4 separate regions of the Homo sapiens genome follow, and all the other regions are linked to region 1. Evidence: promoter capture Hi-C in human tissues and cell types (Jung and others, 2019). All regions are on one chromosome and are shown on one strand. The core of a region is centred on a gene start or on the middle of the fragment in contact, and the rest is flanking DNA. Distances in the headings are between cores, read along the strand shown. Region 1 holds the start of NMRK2 (nicotinamide riboside kinase 2). Region 2 holds the start of PIP5K1C (phosphatidylinositol-4-phosphate 5-kinase type 1 gamma). Region 3 overlaps TJP3 (tight junction protein 3). Region 4 overlaps APBA3 (amyloid beta precursor protein binding family A member 3).

Region 1 (3,152 bases), core at 328-2,827:
CTTGAAGTCCAGGGTCACAATTCTGTTAACAGGACTCATAAAGTACATCATTGGTCGGGCGTGGTGGCTTAAGCCTGTAATCCCAGTACTTTGGGAGGCCAAGGAGGAAGGATCACTTGAGGCCAGGAGTTAGAGACCCGCCTAGGCAATGTAACAAGACCTCATCTCTTAAAAATTCTCTCTCTCTTTGGTGTATTGATCTCTTACTGCATACAGACATACAAACTTGGCCATCCTATCACCCCACCTTCCTAGTCACTTCCCATCCTCTGATCACCCCCCTGCTCCTGGGCTATAATTTCCCACTTTTCCTTGTATTGGTGGAAAGGGAGAAGATTGAATTCAATCTCCCTCCCATACTACAAAACCCCATGGTAGTAGTCCCTCACCCGCCTCAACAAAGTCAGCCTTACTGTTTTAAGAAGCATCAGAAAAATTATTTTCTGGTGGGGAGAGGCGTCACATGCCTGTAATCCCAGCACTTTGGGAGGCCGAGTTGGAGGAATCATCACGTGAGGCCAGGAGTTCAAGACCAACCTGGGCAACATGGCAAGACCCCATCTCTACAAAAAATTTTAAAGTTAGGTGTGGTGGTGCGAACCTGTAGTCTCAGCTGCTCGGGAGGCTGAAGCAGAAAGATCGCCCCAGTGTGAGAAGTTGAGGCTGCAGTGAGCTGTGATCACATCACCACACTCCAGCCTGGGCCACAGAGCGAGACCCTGTCTCAAAAAATTCAAAAATGTAGGCTGGGCATGGTGGCTCACACCTGTAATCCCAGCACTTTGGGAGGCCTGAGGCGGGCAGATCACCTGAGGTCAGGAGTTCAAGACCAGCCTGGCCAACATGGTGAAACCCCGTCTCTACTAAAAATACAAAAATTATCTGGGCGTGTTGGTGCTCGCCTGTAATCCCAGCTATTGGGGAGGTTGACGAAGGAGAATTGCTTGAACCTGGAAGGCAGAGGTTACAGTAAGCCAAGATGGTACCACTGCACTCCAGCCTGGGTGACAGAGCAAAACTCTGTTTCAAATTTATTTATTTTTATTTTATTTTATTTTATTTTTTTGAGACGGAGTCTCGCTCTGTCGCCCAGGTTGGAGTGCAGTGGCACAATCTCAGCTCACTGCAACCTCTACCTGCCAGGTTCAAACGATTCTCCTGCCTCAGCCTCCCAAGTAGCTGGGACTACAGGCGTGTGCCACCATGCCCAGCTAATTTTTTTTGTATTTTTAGTAGAGACGGGGTTTCACCATGCTGGCCAGGCTGGTCTCGAACTCCTGACCTCGTGATCCGCCCGCCTCGGCCTCCCAAAGTGCTGGGATTACAGGCGTGAGCCACTGCACCCGGCTCCATCTGAAATTAAAAAAAAAAAATTAAAACATTTAATAAGAGAATACTTTTTCCCTTTACCAGTAGAAGAGAGAAGCAGCAGAGTGTCATTCCTCCCCATTACCCCCTCCCCGCCCCGCCGGCCCCCAGTCAAATGACTCCACCCACAAGGCAGGCACGGGATGAATGGTCCCTGGTGTCACGCTGAGATCCTGTGGCTGGGCCCCCGGTCACCTGGGCAAGGCTATCTTGTGATTCACTGCTAAGGATCTTAAGCCCACCTTGGCCCTGACCTCGTTGGAAAACGAAGCTCCCCGCAGGGTCCCGGCCTCTAGGGCTGCTGTGCGGGCGGGGGTGGGTGAGTTCGCTTCCTTGACGCCACGAGAACCAGTCTTAATGTCAGGGTCAGGCCATAGGACACAGAGAGCGGGATATTTTTAGGGAGGGAAAAGTGTGGGGCTGCTGATCTGAGCTCTCTGGCCAGGAGGAGGGAAGAGGGTGGGGGTGGAGAGGAGGGAGGAGGGGGTAAGAAGGGGAGGAGAGGGGAGGAGGGAGTGGAGAGAGGGCAGGGAGGTGGGAGGAGGGAAGAGGCAGCCCCCTGCCCGGCCAGCTCGTGACTAATTTAGGCAAAAGGCAGCCTGGAGCTATTTCCATTCGGCGGCGGGAACAGGTGCCGGCGCCTCCGCCCCATCCCCAGGGGCCGCCTCCCCCGGGGCGGCCTCCAGGCTGCCGAGACCTATAAAGGCGCCAGGTTTTCTCAATGAAGCCGGGACGCACTCCGGAGCGCACTGCGTGGTCGCACCCTACCCGGGCTGCCTTGGAAGTCGTCCCCGCCGCCCCTCCGCACCGGCATGAAGCTCATCGTGGGCATCGGAGGGTGAGCGCCGGGGGACCTGGTGGGCGGCCCTGCGGGGCAAAGCCCCCTGTGCGCGCAGAGGGGGAGGCCCGGGAATGAATGGAGGGATGCCTGGCGCCTGAGGTCACCTACACGCCGCCCGAGGTCAGAGTGCAGGGAGGATTTTCTGCCCTGGGGGTCTCGGTGTCCCCAGTGGGAAGGGGGGCTGGACACTGAGCCCAGTGTTTCATTTTTTAAATGGAAATGATTCCCGCCACCTTCCAATTATACTCAGCATAAAAAAAAAATAGACCAGACACGGTGGCTCAGGCCTGGAATCCTGGCACTTTGGGAGGCCGAGGCGGGTGGATCACCTGAGGTCAGGAATTTGAGACCAGCCTGGCCAACACGGTGAAACCCCGTCTCTACTAAAAATACAAAAATTAGCTGGGCACGGTGGTGCATACCTGTAATCCCAGCTACTGGGGAGGCTGAGGTGGGAGAATCGCTTGAATCCGGGAGATGGAGGTTGCAGTGAGTGCGATCATGCCACTTCACTCCAGCCTGGGCGACAGAGTGAGGCTGTGTCTCAAAAAAAAAATCAGTAGGGACAGAAAATTAACTAAAGCTCCAGTGAACCCTCCTCCCGCCTCGTGGCTGTCCTGGCTAAATCGGGGACTGACACGTGGGCAGGTGGGATGGGGTCCCCAAAATGTCATTCCACATGACTGTGCCTTTGGAGCCTCTCTCAGGCGACCTCAGGCTAGAAGAGATTCAAACTCTCTGTAACCAGCACGGCTGGCTTTGTGGGGCTCACACCCCCGCCTCAGAAGGGACGGGAGCTTGGTCTAATGCTAGCCGGACTCCCTCTTGAATTTCATATTTTTTGTTTTTTGGGGTTTTTTTTTTTGGGGGGGGGGTGTTGTTGTTGCCGTCGTAGTTTGAGACAGAGTCTTGCTCTGTTGCCCCAGGCTGGAGTGCAGTGGTG
Region 2 (3,152 bases), core at 375-2,874, 230 kb before region 1:
AGCAGTATATGGCCAGCTGGGGTCAGATTTCTGTGGATTTCAGGGATGGGCAGAGATGCCAGACCCTGACCTTCCAGCCCTCCCCGGCCCCCCACCCCCACCCCCCCACTCCCCCGCTCTCCCACCCCACCACCATGCTCAGTCTGGAGCTGGCAACTTTATCTGTCCCCGGTGCTCCCAGAGCCCCTGATAAGATGAATGGTCGCGGTGTGGTTTTCTTTTGGTCAGCGAGTCCTGGGCTACTTTGTCTCTGACCAGCTGGGGTCAGAGGGCTGACAGCGGAAGTTGGGGGGCCCAAGAAAGGAACCCGGGCTGGGGCCTGGTGCCCTGCCTGGGTTCCTCCACCATGTCTCTTGCTGGCCAGGCCAGGACACCGGCTGCCCGCAAAGAAAGGGGCGAGGCCACTGGCTCTGGGGAAGGAACCGGGTCACCTACCAAGCGGTTCCAGATGGCCGCCGGGAGGGAAGCCACGAGTGTCTTTCAAGGCGGGGGGTGGGGGGGGGACTTGATGACTTCCACACTCTCTCTCTCTCCAGACATCTCCCCAACTCCCAGGCAGCACGCATCGCCCGCCCGCCCGCTTGCCCGCCTGCCAACCAAGGAAGCTTCGGGAGGCCTGGGGGGAGAAGGAGGACGGATGCCCGTGTGGGTGTCTACAGAGACGCTGCTGCTGGCTGCCTGGGAGGAGCAGAGGATTTTGTGAATCCGGAAACTTCCGATTTGGGAGCTTGTGACCTCGACTGAGAAGGAACTGTTCCCTTCCTCTGGGCTCTGCACACCGTCCCCACAGAAGGGAAGGCCCAGCTGCCGCCACCTACCCGGCTGGAGGTCCAGGAAGCAGCTAAAGGGGGCATGAGACAGCCGTGCCCCCCGCCCAGCCCGCAGCCCCACCAGTGTGTCCTGGGGGAAGGCTCGGGGAGAGGAAAAGGGGGCGACAGGGCACCCTGTGTGCACAGCCGGGGCGGTGGAGGCATCTTGAGATGTAACCCTTTTCCTCCCCTCATTTTAGCAGGGAGGTAAACTGAGGCCCAGGAAGGTGAGGAAAGGTCGCGCACCCGGACTCAGGTCTGGGGACTTACAGAAAGGGAGGTGACATCAGGAGGTGGGCACGCACGGCCTCAGAGACCCCCGCCTCCACCCAAGCAGCCGCCACTCACACGACGGGCAGCCCCTGGGAGCGGGTCAGGCAGAACGGGGATCCCCAGCGGCGCCCACGCCGAGTCGCCCCCGGCCCGGGAGCGGTGGGAGGTAGCCCCTCGCAGGCCTCCCGCTTCCCGGCGCGGCTTCAGCCCCGTCCTCCCCGCGGCTCCAGGGGACTGCCCCGCCCCAGGCTCCTGGAACCGGCGGCGCCCCCGCAGCGACCGTGCAGCCCCCGCCCCGGCCCCGCAGCCCCGCGACTCTCGGCGCTCGGACGAGCCCAGCGGGCCGCAGCCCCGGGAGGCCGGGCCGTTACCTGCCGCCGCCCCGCTCTCTGCCGCCCACGCCGCCTCCGAGGGCACGGCCCCCGCCTCAGCGCTCTCCGCCTCGTCCGGTACCTCCAGCTCCATGGCCGCGCGCGGACGGCGGCGGGGGCGCCCGAGGGGGACCCGAGCTGCGACCGCCGCCGCCGAACAACAAGCGCCGCCGGCCAAGGGAGGGCGCGCCGGGCCGGCGCGGGGCGGACGGGGCGGGGCCTGCGTGCGTGCGACGCCGCGGACGGCGCGCGGCCAATCGGGGCTCGGGGGCGGGGCCTGCTTGCGACCCGCAGCCAGGAGCGCCTCGAGTGCCCCCTCGCGCCCAGGGGTGGGAGTACAGAGCCAGGCTCGCCATTCCATCGTATTAGGTCAGTAAGATTGACAGGCACGATACGTATCAATAACATTGCTGTGCACAACACATACCAATAACATGGATCTACACAACACATGACAATAATATGGATCTATACAGCACGTGCCAATAATATGGATGTACACAGCACATGCCAATAACATGGATCTAAACAGCACATGCCAATAACAGGGACCTGCACAGCGCATGACAATAACATGGATCTGGCCGGGCGCGGTGACTCACGCCTATATTCCCGGCACTTTGGGAGGCCGAAGAGGGCGGATCACCTGAGGTCAGGAGTTCAAGACCATCCTGACCAACATGGTGAAATCCTGTCTCTACTAAAAATACAAAAAATAGCTGGGCGTGGTGGCACATGCCTGTAATCGCGGCTACTCGGGAGGCTGAGGCAGGAGAATCGCTGGAACCCAGGAGGGAGAGGTTGCAGTGAGCTGAGATCGCACCATTGCCCTCCAGCCTGGGCCACAGAGTGAGACTCTGTCCCAAAAAAAACCACACATGGACCTACACAGCACATGCCAATAACATGGAGTTACCCAATGCATGCCAATAACATGGATATACACAATACATGCCAATAACACGGATATGCACAATACATGCCAATAACATGGATATACACAATACATGCCAATAACATGAATCTATACTATATCATTGACATGGATCTACATAAAACATACAAATAGCATTGCTATATGCAATACATGCCAATCACATTGCTATACACAATGAATACCAATAACATTGATCTACACAATACATGTAACTAACATTGATACACACACTACATGTCAATAACATTGATATACACACTACATGCCAATAACATGGATATACACACTACATGCCAATAACATTGATATACACACTACATGCCAATAACATTAATGTACACACTACATGTCAATAACATTGATATACACACTACATGTCAATAACATTGATATGCACAAAATATACCAATAACAGTGATATACACAGTACATGTAAATAATATTGATCTACACAGGGCCGGGCGCGGTGGCTCATGCCTGTAATCCCAAGACTTTGGGAGGCCGAGGCGGGCGGATCACGAGGTCAGGAGATTGAGACCATCCTGGTTAACATGGTGAAACCCCGTCTCTACTAAAAATACAAAAAATTAGCCAGGCGTGGTGGCGGGCGCCTGTAGTCCCAGCTACTTGGGAGGCTAAGGCAGGAGAATAGGGTGAACCTGGGAGGCAGAGCTTGCAGTGAGCTGAGATCGTGTCACTGCACTCCAGCCTGGGCAACAGAGCGAGACTCCATATCAAAAAAAAATATATATATATATAGAT
Region 3 (3,152 bases), core at 379-2,878, 210 kb before region 1:
GGGGGGCGGGGACAAAGACCCAAGCCCCACCCTCTCAGAGTTCACCTGGACAGGGGCAGGGCTGGGAACTCAGGACACACCTGTTGAGCACCTGGCCACAGTGTGTTTTACTCAACCATTCACTCATTCCTCAAACTCTTCCCTAAGGGGGCCTGGTCCTATGGGGTCCCAGGGGCCCATCCCTGCCCATCGGGAGCGCTCAGACTGAGGGGGAAGGTGTAAGGTGGACAAATCCACTCTGACATCCCACACCCCAATCATCACATTTGGGCCAGAGGGAAGGATGTATGATATGCGTACGGAGGAAGAGGCTGGGGCTGTGAAGGATGAATAGGAGTTTGCCAGGGAGTCCAGTACCAGCACTCAAGGCCTGGAAAGGAGGCTGATGGCCAATCACCTGGGCCTTAAGTAGCCAGAGAGACAGACATGTCTCCTTTCACAGCCTAAGAGGAAAGACCAGAAACATACTAACCGATGGTTAAAGAGAATAAAGATGATTTTTAGATGCCTTGAATAAAAAATAATAAAACAGGCTGGGCGTGGTGGCTCACTCCTGTAATCCCAGCACTTTGGGAGGCTGAGGGAGGTGGATCACCTGAGGTCAGCAGTTTGAGCCCAGCCTGGCCAACATGGTGAACCCCCACCTCTACTAAAAATACAAAAATTAGCCGGGCGTGGTGGTTGGACGCCTGTAATTCTAGCTACTTGGGAGGCTGAGGCACGAGAATTGCTGGAACCCAGGAGGCGGAGGTTGCAGTGAGCTGAGATTGTGTCACTACACTCCAGCCTGGGTGACAGAGTGACACTCTGTCTCAAAAGAAAAAAAAAAAATATATATATATATATATATAAAATAATAAAATAGGCAGGAGTGATAGGGGATCAGAGAAGACTGGTTAGCTAGGTGGTCAGGGAGGACTTCCTGAGGAGGTGGCATTTGAGCCTAGACCTCAGTGGCAGGGGCCAGCCAGGCAGGAATCCCGTGAAACATGTCCCAGATTCAGGGGACAGATGGGGTAAAGGTTTGGAGGTGAACTAAGATGAGGTGGGCTGTGAGGTTAGGCTTAATCCCTCAGGCACTGTGGAGCTCTGGAGGGTTTAGACAAAGCTTCTGGTTTCCATGGAGACGAACCCGCACAAGCTGGGACAAGCCTGGACCACCTGGACTCCCTCGCCCCTCTCCCACTCTGGGTTCGGGGGCCCTGGTTCCCTGGGGCTGTCTCTTTTTTTTTTTTGAGACGGAGTTTCCCTCTGTCGCCCAGGCTGGAGTGCAGTGGCACAATCTTGGCTCACTGCAAGCTCCGCCTCCCAGGTTCACGCCATTCTCCTGCCTCAGCCTCCTGAGTAGCTGGGACTACAGGCGCCGGCCACCACGCCCTGCTAATTTTTTGTATTTTTAGTAGAGACGGGGTTTCACCATGTTAGCCAGGATAGTCTCGATCTCCTGACCTTGTGGTCTGCCTGCCTCAGCCTCCCAAAGTGCTGGGATTACAGGCATGAGCCACTGTGCCCGGGCAGGGCTGTCTCTTAAAGTCAGGAAATACAAATTCCTTGGGGCCATTTAAAAATTTTTTTTGAGACAGGGTCTTGCTCTGTCGCCCAGGCTGGAGTGCAGAGGCACGATCACAATTCACTGCAGCCTCGACCTCCTGGGCTCAGGTGATCCTTCTGCCTCAGCCTCTCGAGGAGCTGGGACCACAGGTGCATGCCACCATGCCCGGCTAATTTTTGTATTTTTTTGTAGAGATGAGGGTCTCACTATGTTGCTCAGGTTGGTCTTGAACTCCTGGGCTCAAGCAATCCTCTTGCCTCGGTCTCCCAAAGTGCTGAGATTATAGGCAGAATCCACCGTGCCCGGCCCTGGGGCCATTTAATGACACAAAGTATAACATCAAAGCAGGTTAAAAAAAAAAAAGATGCAGTTTTGAAAAATAAGCTCAGAAGAAAAAGAGTAAATAATCAGAAAGCCACTGTAGCCTGGTGGTTAAGAGCAAGAGTGAGGCTGGGTGCGGTGGCTCACGCCTGTAATTCCAACACTTTAGGAGGCTGAGGTGGGAGGATCGCTTGGGCCCAGGAATTTGAGACCAGCTTGGTCAACATAGCAAAACCCCATCTCTACAAAAAAACAAAAAAATATGCTGTGTGTGGTGGTGCATGCCTGTGGTCCCAGCTACCTGGGAGGCTGAAGCAGGAGGATCCCTTGGGCCTGGGAGTTCAAGGCTGCAGTGAGCTGTGATTGAGCCACTGCACTCCAGCCTGGGCAACAGAGTGAAACCCCGTCTCAAAAACCAAACAACCAATCAACCAACCAACCAACCAAAAAAGAGCCAGAGAACAGGGCAGGCTGCCAAGTTCACCACTGTGCTGCGTGACCTCAGGCAAGTTACTGAACCTCTCTAGGCCCCTTTTAATCTCACCTCTAAAGTAGGAATAATAACTGTGCCACTTCCTAAGGTCACTCTGAGGATGAAATGAATGGGTCCACATCAAGCGCCTGCTTGCAGCCAGGTTCAAGACAGCCTGACCAACATGGTGAAACCCCGTCTCTACTAAAAATACAAAAAGTAGCTGGCTGTGGTTGTGGGTGCCTATAATCCCAGCTACTCGGGAGGCTGAGTCAGGAGAATAACTTGAACCCAGGAGGTGGAGGTTGCAGTGAGCCGAGACTACGCCATTGCACTCCAGCCTGGGCAACAAGAGCAAAAAACCCCATCTCAAAAAAAAAAAAAAAAACTACACAAGGAGAAAGTCATTATTTGGCCACCACCTCCCCAAGGCTCCTTCTGCTTTTTGCTTTTCAGGCATTGAATCTGTACCCTTTTCCCAAACCACATCCCTGCAAGACAGGGCAGCAGTGCCATTTCACAGATGGGGAGACTGAGGCTGGGAGAGGCCCCGCCATAGCTAGCACGGGTGGGCAGACTTGGGATTTGAGTCCAGTCCTGAGCGCTGCCCTGGCTCCTTCAGAACTGCAGAGCCCTGCCCTCTGCTCTGTTTCTCTCCCCTCCACCCGCCTTCCCACTCCTGGAGATCAGGAATGCTGGCCTCGCTAGAGACGCTGGAGCTTATAAGAAAAGGCACTGGAGCGCACCAATGGGGGGTGCCTGGGCAGAGGGAATCACACACCCGCTGTGCCAAGCCTAGAAAACCCG
Region 4 (3,152 bases), core at 390-2,889, 180 kb before region 1:
TGGCCTCCCTTCTCCAGGCCTCAGTTTCCCCAAGGGCACACCAGTGGGCAGGACTTAAAAGTTCGACTTTGTCCCTCCTGGCTGGGCTGGAGAGACCTGGCCAGGGAGGAGACCTCTCTGGGACTCAGCTCCCCTTCCTGGGAGTGTGGGGGCCCTGCCACACCAGGAAACTCACGCGGACAGCGGCCTGGCACGCAGCCAGGGGCAGCCCCACCAGGCTGGTCCCGTTGATGGCGGTCAGGCGGTCCCCGATGCTGAGGGCCCCCGAGCGCTCAGCAGGCCCCCCGTGCAGCAGGTTGGCGATGACGGCTGTGGGCAGCAGGGAGCCCCAGCCCGACTCCACCAGGGCCACGCCCAGGCCCTCCCCTCGCCGCTTCTCGAGGTGCACCTGGGACACACAGGGGGCGCGGAGGCTGCTCAGCAGGGCCCGGTGCAGGTGCACGGGTGTGGGGGGCACCAGGTGGGGGCTGCCCAGCACCTCACTCACCTCCCGGCAGTTGTCACTGTTGGAGAAGTGGTCCAGGTCCCCATTATGGAGGTGGCAGGCGCCTGGGCTCGGGTGCACGCCCACCTGGCTGGGGTCAATACCGCTTTCCCGTAGGAACTGGCTGTAGGCGGCGGCGAAGGCCTGGCCAATGGCCTGGGCGATGAGCTGGGCCTGCGGGGAGGAGTGGCGCGTCCCTGGGGTGTCCCACCCACCTCCTCCAGGTCCCCAAAGTCCCCAGGGTCCTCAGAGCTGAGCCCTCCTGTCCCCACCTGGGGTGAGAGTCCCAGGACACAGCCTTCTGCCCTGGGGCTTTGGGGGAGGTGGAGAGACAGCCGCATCTTGGGGAATCTACGGGGAGAAGGAAGGGGAGGGGCAGCCCTGGGCTGGGGGGACGATGAGGGAGGCAGCTCCCTGCGCATGGGCTGTGGGAAAAGCTATCAAAGACCCAGCCAGGGGGCCTGGGGCCTCATGGGTGGCAGGGACAGCCCAGGAGCGGGCAAGGTTTCGGGGAGTCGGCCGAGAGTCTTGGAGTCTTATAGGAGGCTGGACGCGGTGGCTCACGCCTGTAATTGCAGCACTTTGGGAGGCTGAGGTGGGTGGATCGCTTGAGCCCAGGAGTTTGAGACCGTGTTCACCTGGGCAACAGAGCGAGACCGTGTCTCTATAAAAAATACAAAAATTAGCCAGGCATGGTGATACCCCGGTGGTCCCAGCTACTAGAGAGGCTGAAGTGGGAGGATCGCTTGAGCCTGGAAGGTTGAGGCTGCAGTGAACTATGATTGCGCCACTGCACTCCAGCCTGGGTGACAGAAGGAGACCTTGTCCCAAAAAAAGAATTTAAAAATAAGCTTATGGGAGGGAGGTTAAATGCACGGCCCACTGAGGGAGGCGACAGTTGCAGTGAGGAGGGCCTCAGGAGGGTGGCCCCGCGCCCTGGCTGCTCACGTCCTCCGCGTAGAATACGTGGCAGAGCATCTTGTAGAGGCGGCGGCCGTGGTCCTGGGGTGCCGGCCTCCGTGCCAGCCGCCGCCGCGCCATCAGCACCAGCACGCAGCCGATGTCGGCTGTGTAGGAGATGGTATGCAGGGCGTGGTCCATCATGGCCTCCTGGGGCGGGAGAGGCAGCCTGGGTGGGTTGGGGGGCCGTGCCAGGCTCGATCACCCCACCCGCATCCCTGGGGCGGGTCCCTGCCCCGTACCTGGGAGTCCGCTGTCAAGACCTTGATCCTCTTGGTGGAGACGAACAGGTCCACCTCCGTCATGGGCTGGGTCTCCCCATCGGGGGCCTGTGGGTGGCGGCGTGGGAGGTGGAGGCCCCCACAGACCCAGCCTGCAGCCCACCCGCCTGCCCGCCCGGCCCCGGCCGCCCCCTCACCTTGACGCGGTCCATGGCCTCCCGGGCCTGGGCCATGCGCGTGCTGGTGGGCGGGTTCCGTTCCGACACCAGCTGGGTGGACCCCAGGTACCTGGCCCCAAATATGACACCGTCCAGGAGGTCTTCATGGTCACAGGGACCAGGCACTGAGGGCGACAGCGAAGAGGGTCGGCCCCCAGGGGCCCACTCCCACAGGCTCTGCCCCAGGGCTACGCTCTCCGAGATGGCCGGGAGACACAGTGTTCTAGCTGGTGGCTTAGCACTCTCCAGCCAGGAAGCACAGCCCACTGTTCTAGAACCATCCAAGCAGCCTGGCCCTCACAGGTCTAGAACCTTCTGTCCATCCCTCAAGGACTCGCAGGTGGGAAACCAGTGAGTCCAGGCCATGGCTGGATTCAAAGCCAGATCTAGCACCCACAGATACCTTCACCCCGTGTCCCCAGAATTCCATGATCAGGCCGGAACCAGACAGTCCCACTCCTGCTTTTTTGAGACACGGTCTCGCTCTGTCGCCCAGGCTGGAGCTCGGTGGTGTGATCTCAGCTCACTGCAACCTCCGCTTCCTGGGTTCAAACGATTCTCCTGCCTCAGTCTCATGAGTAGCTGGGATTACAGGCGCCCACCACCACGCCTGGCTAGTTTTTGTATTTTTAGTAGAGACGGGGTTTCGCCACGTTGGCCAGGCTGGTCTCAAACTCCCGACCTCAAGTGATCCACCCGCCTTGGCCTCCTAAAGTACTGGGATGACAGGCGTGAGCCACGACGCTCCACCCCCCACTCCAATTTCGAAACCTCCACAACATTCTAGAACCACAGTGGACCCCTGCTTCTTGGTTCTGGAATTCCCTCCATCAATCTAGAACTGGCCAGCTCTGCCCACTGTTCTAGAACCGTCTGCAGTCAGCCCAGGATAGCAGGCAGCTCTGTTCCCGGGTTGTAGAACCACTCAGAACAGAGACAGACCCTGCTGCCTGTCTAAAATTCCCATACTCTCCAGAACCCCAGCTGGTTCTGACCCTTGATTCCAGAACTCTCTGACAGGTCTCATAGCAATTCTGTCAGGAGTTTTAGAATCTTATTATCACTCTAGAATCAGACTTCTCTGCTCCGTGATTCCAGAACATCTTAATCACAATCGCGTCAGGCAGCTCTTCCTGTGGTTCTAGAATCTCCTTCAGTAGTTCACACCTTTGGCTACACCAGGGATTCTAAGAATTACCTGACCAGTCAAGGAACAAACAATTCTGTTCCAGGAGAATTCTAGACAGTTCCAGAATACTCCCAACCCAG

The links. The method cuts DNA at HindIII sites, captures the fragments that hold promoters and counts their contacts. A contact is called where the count stands out against the background at its distance.
Region 2: a contact is called between the fragment with the promoter of PIP5K1C here and the fragment with the promoter of NMRK2 in region 1, in 1 of the 25 tissues and cell types used here (stomach).
Region 3: a contact is called between a fragment that was not itself captured here and the fragment with the promoter of NMRK2 in region 1, in 1 of the 25 tissues and cell types used here (liver).
Region 4: a fragment that was not itself captured here is called in contact with the fragment with the promoter of NMRK2 in region 1 in 2 of the 25 tissues and cell types used here (aorta and dorsolateral prefrontal cortex).

What each region holds. Positions count from the first base shown.
Region 1 is chr19:3,931,492-3,934,643 of GRCh38, forward strand. It overlaps NMRK2 (nicotinamide riboside kinase 2), which reads left to right and starts at 1,578. Exons shown (of 8, transcript NM_170678.3): 1 at 1,578-1,687; 2 at 1,967-2,206. The coding sequence starts at 2,181. The HindIII fragment of the contact is 37,457 bases long and covers 1-3,152 here.
Region 2 is chr19:3,698,844-3,701,995 of GRCh38, forward strand. It overlaps PIP5K1C (phosphatidylinositol-4-phosphate 5-kinase type 1 gamma), which reads right to left and starts at 1,625. Exons shown (of 18, transcript NM_012398.3): 1 at 1,454-1,625. The coding sequence starts at 1,547. RefSeq lists an enhancer at 682-1,465 and silencers at 1,164-1,303, 1,384-1,873. The HindIII fragment of the contact is 9,003 bases long and covers 1-3,152 here.
Region 3 is chr19:3,722,979-3,726,130 of GRCh38, forward strand. All of the region lies in intron 1 of TJP3 (tight junction protein 3), which reads left to right. Among named protein-coding and RNA genes, the nearest start is that of TJP3, 16 kb to the left of the region's middle. The HindIII fragment of the contact is 5,075 bases long and covers 1-3,152 here.
Region 4 is chr19:3,752,333-3,755,484 of GRCh38, forward strand. It overlaps APBA3 (amyloid beta precursor protein binding family A member 3), which reads right to left. Exons shown (of 11, transcript NM_004886.4): 4 at 1,863-2,008; 5 at 1,687-1,773; 6 at 1,433-1,594; 7 at 488-658; 8 at 176-388. Among named protein-coding and RNA genes, the nearest start is that of APBA3, 7.8 kb to the right of the region's middle. The HindIII fragment of the contact is 3,385 bases long and covers 1-3,152 here.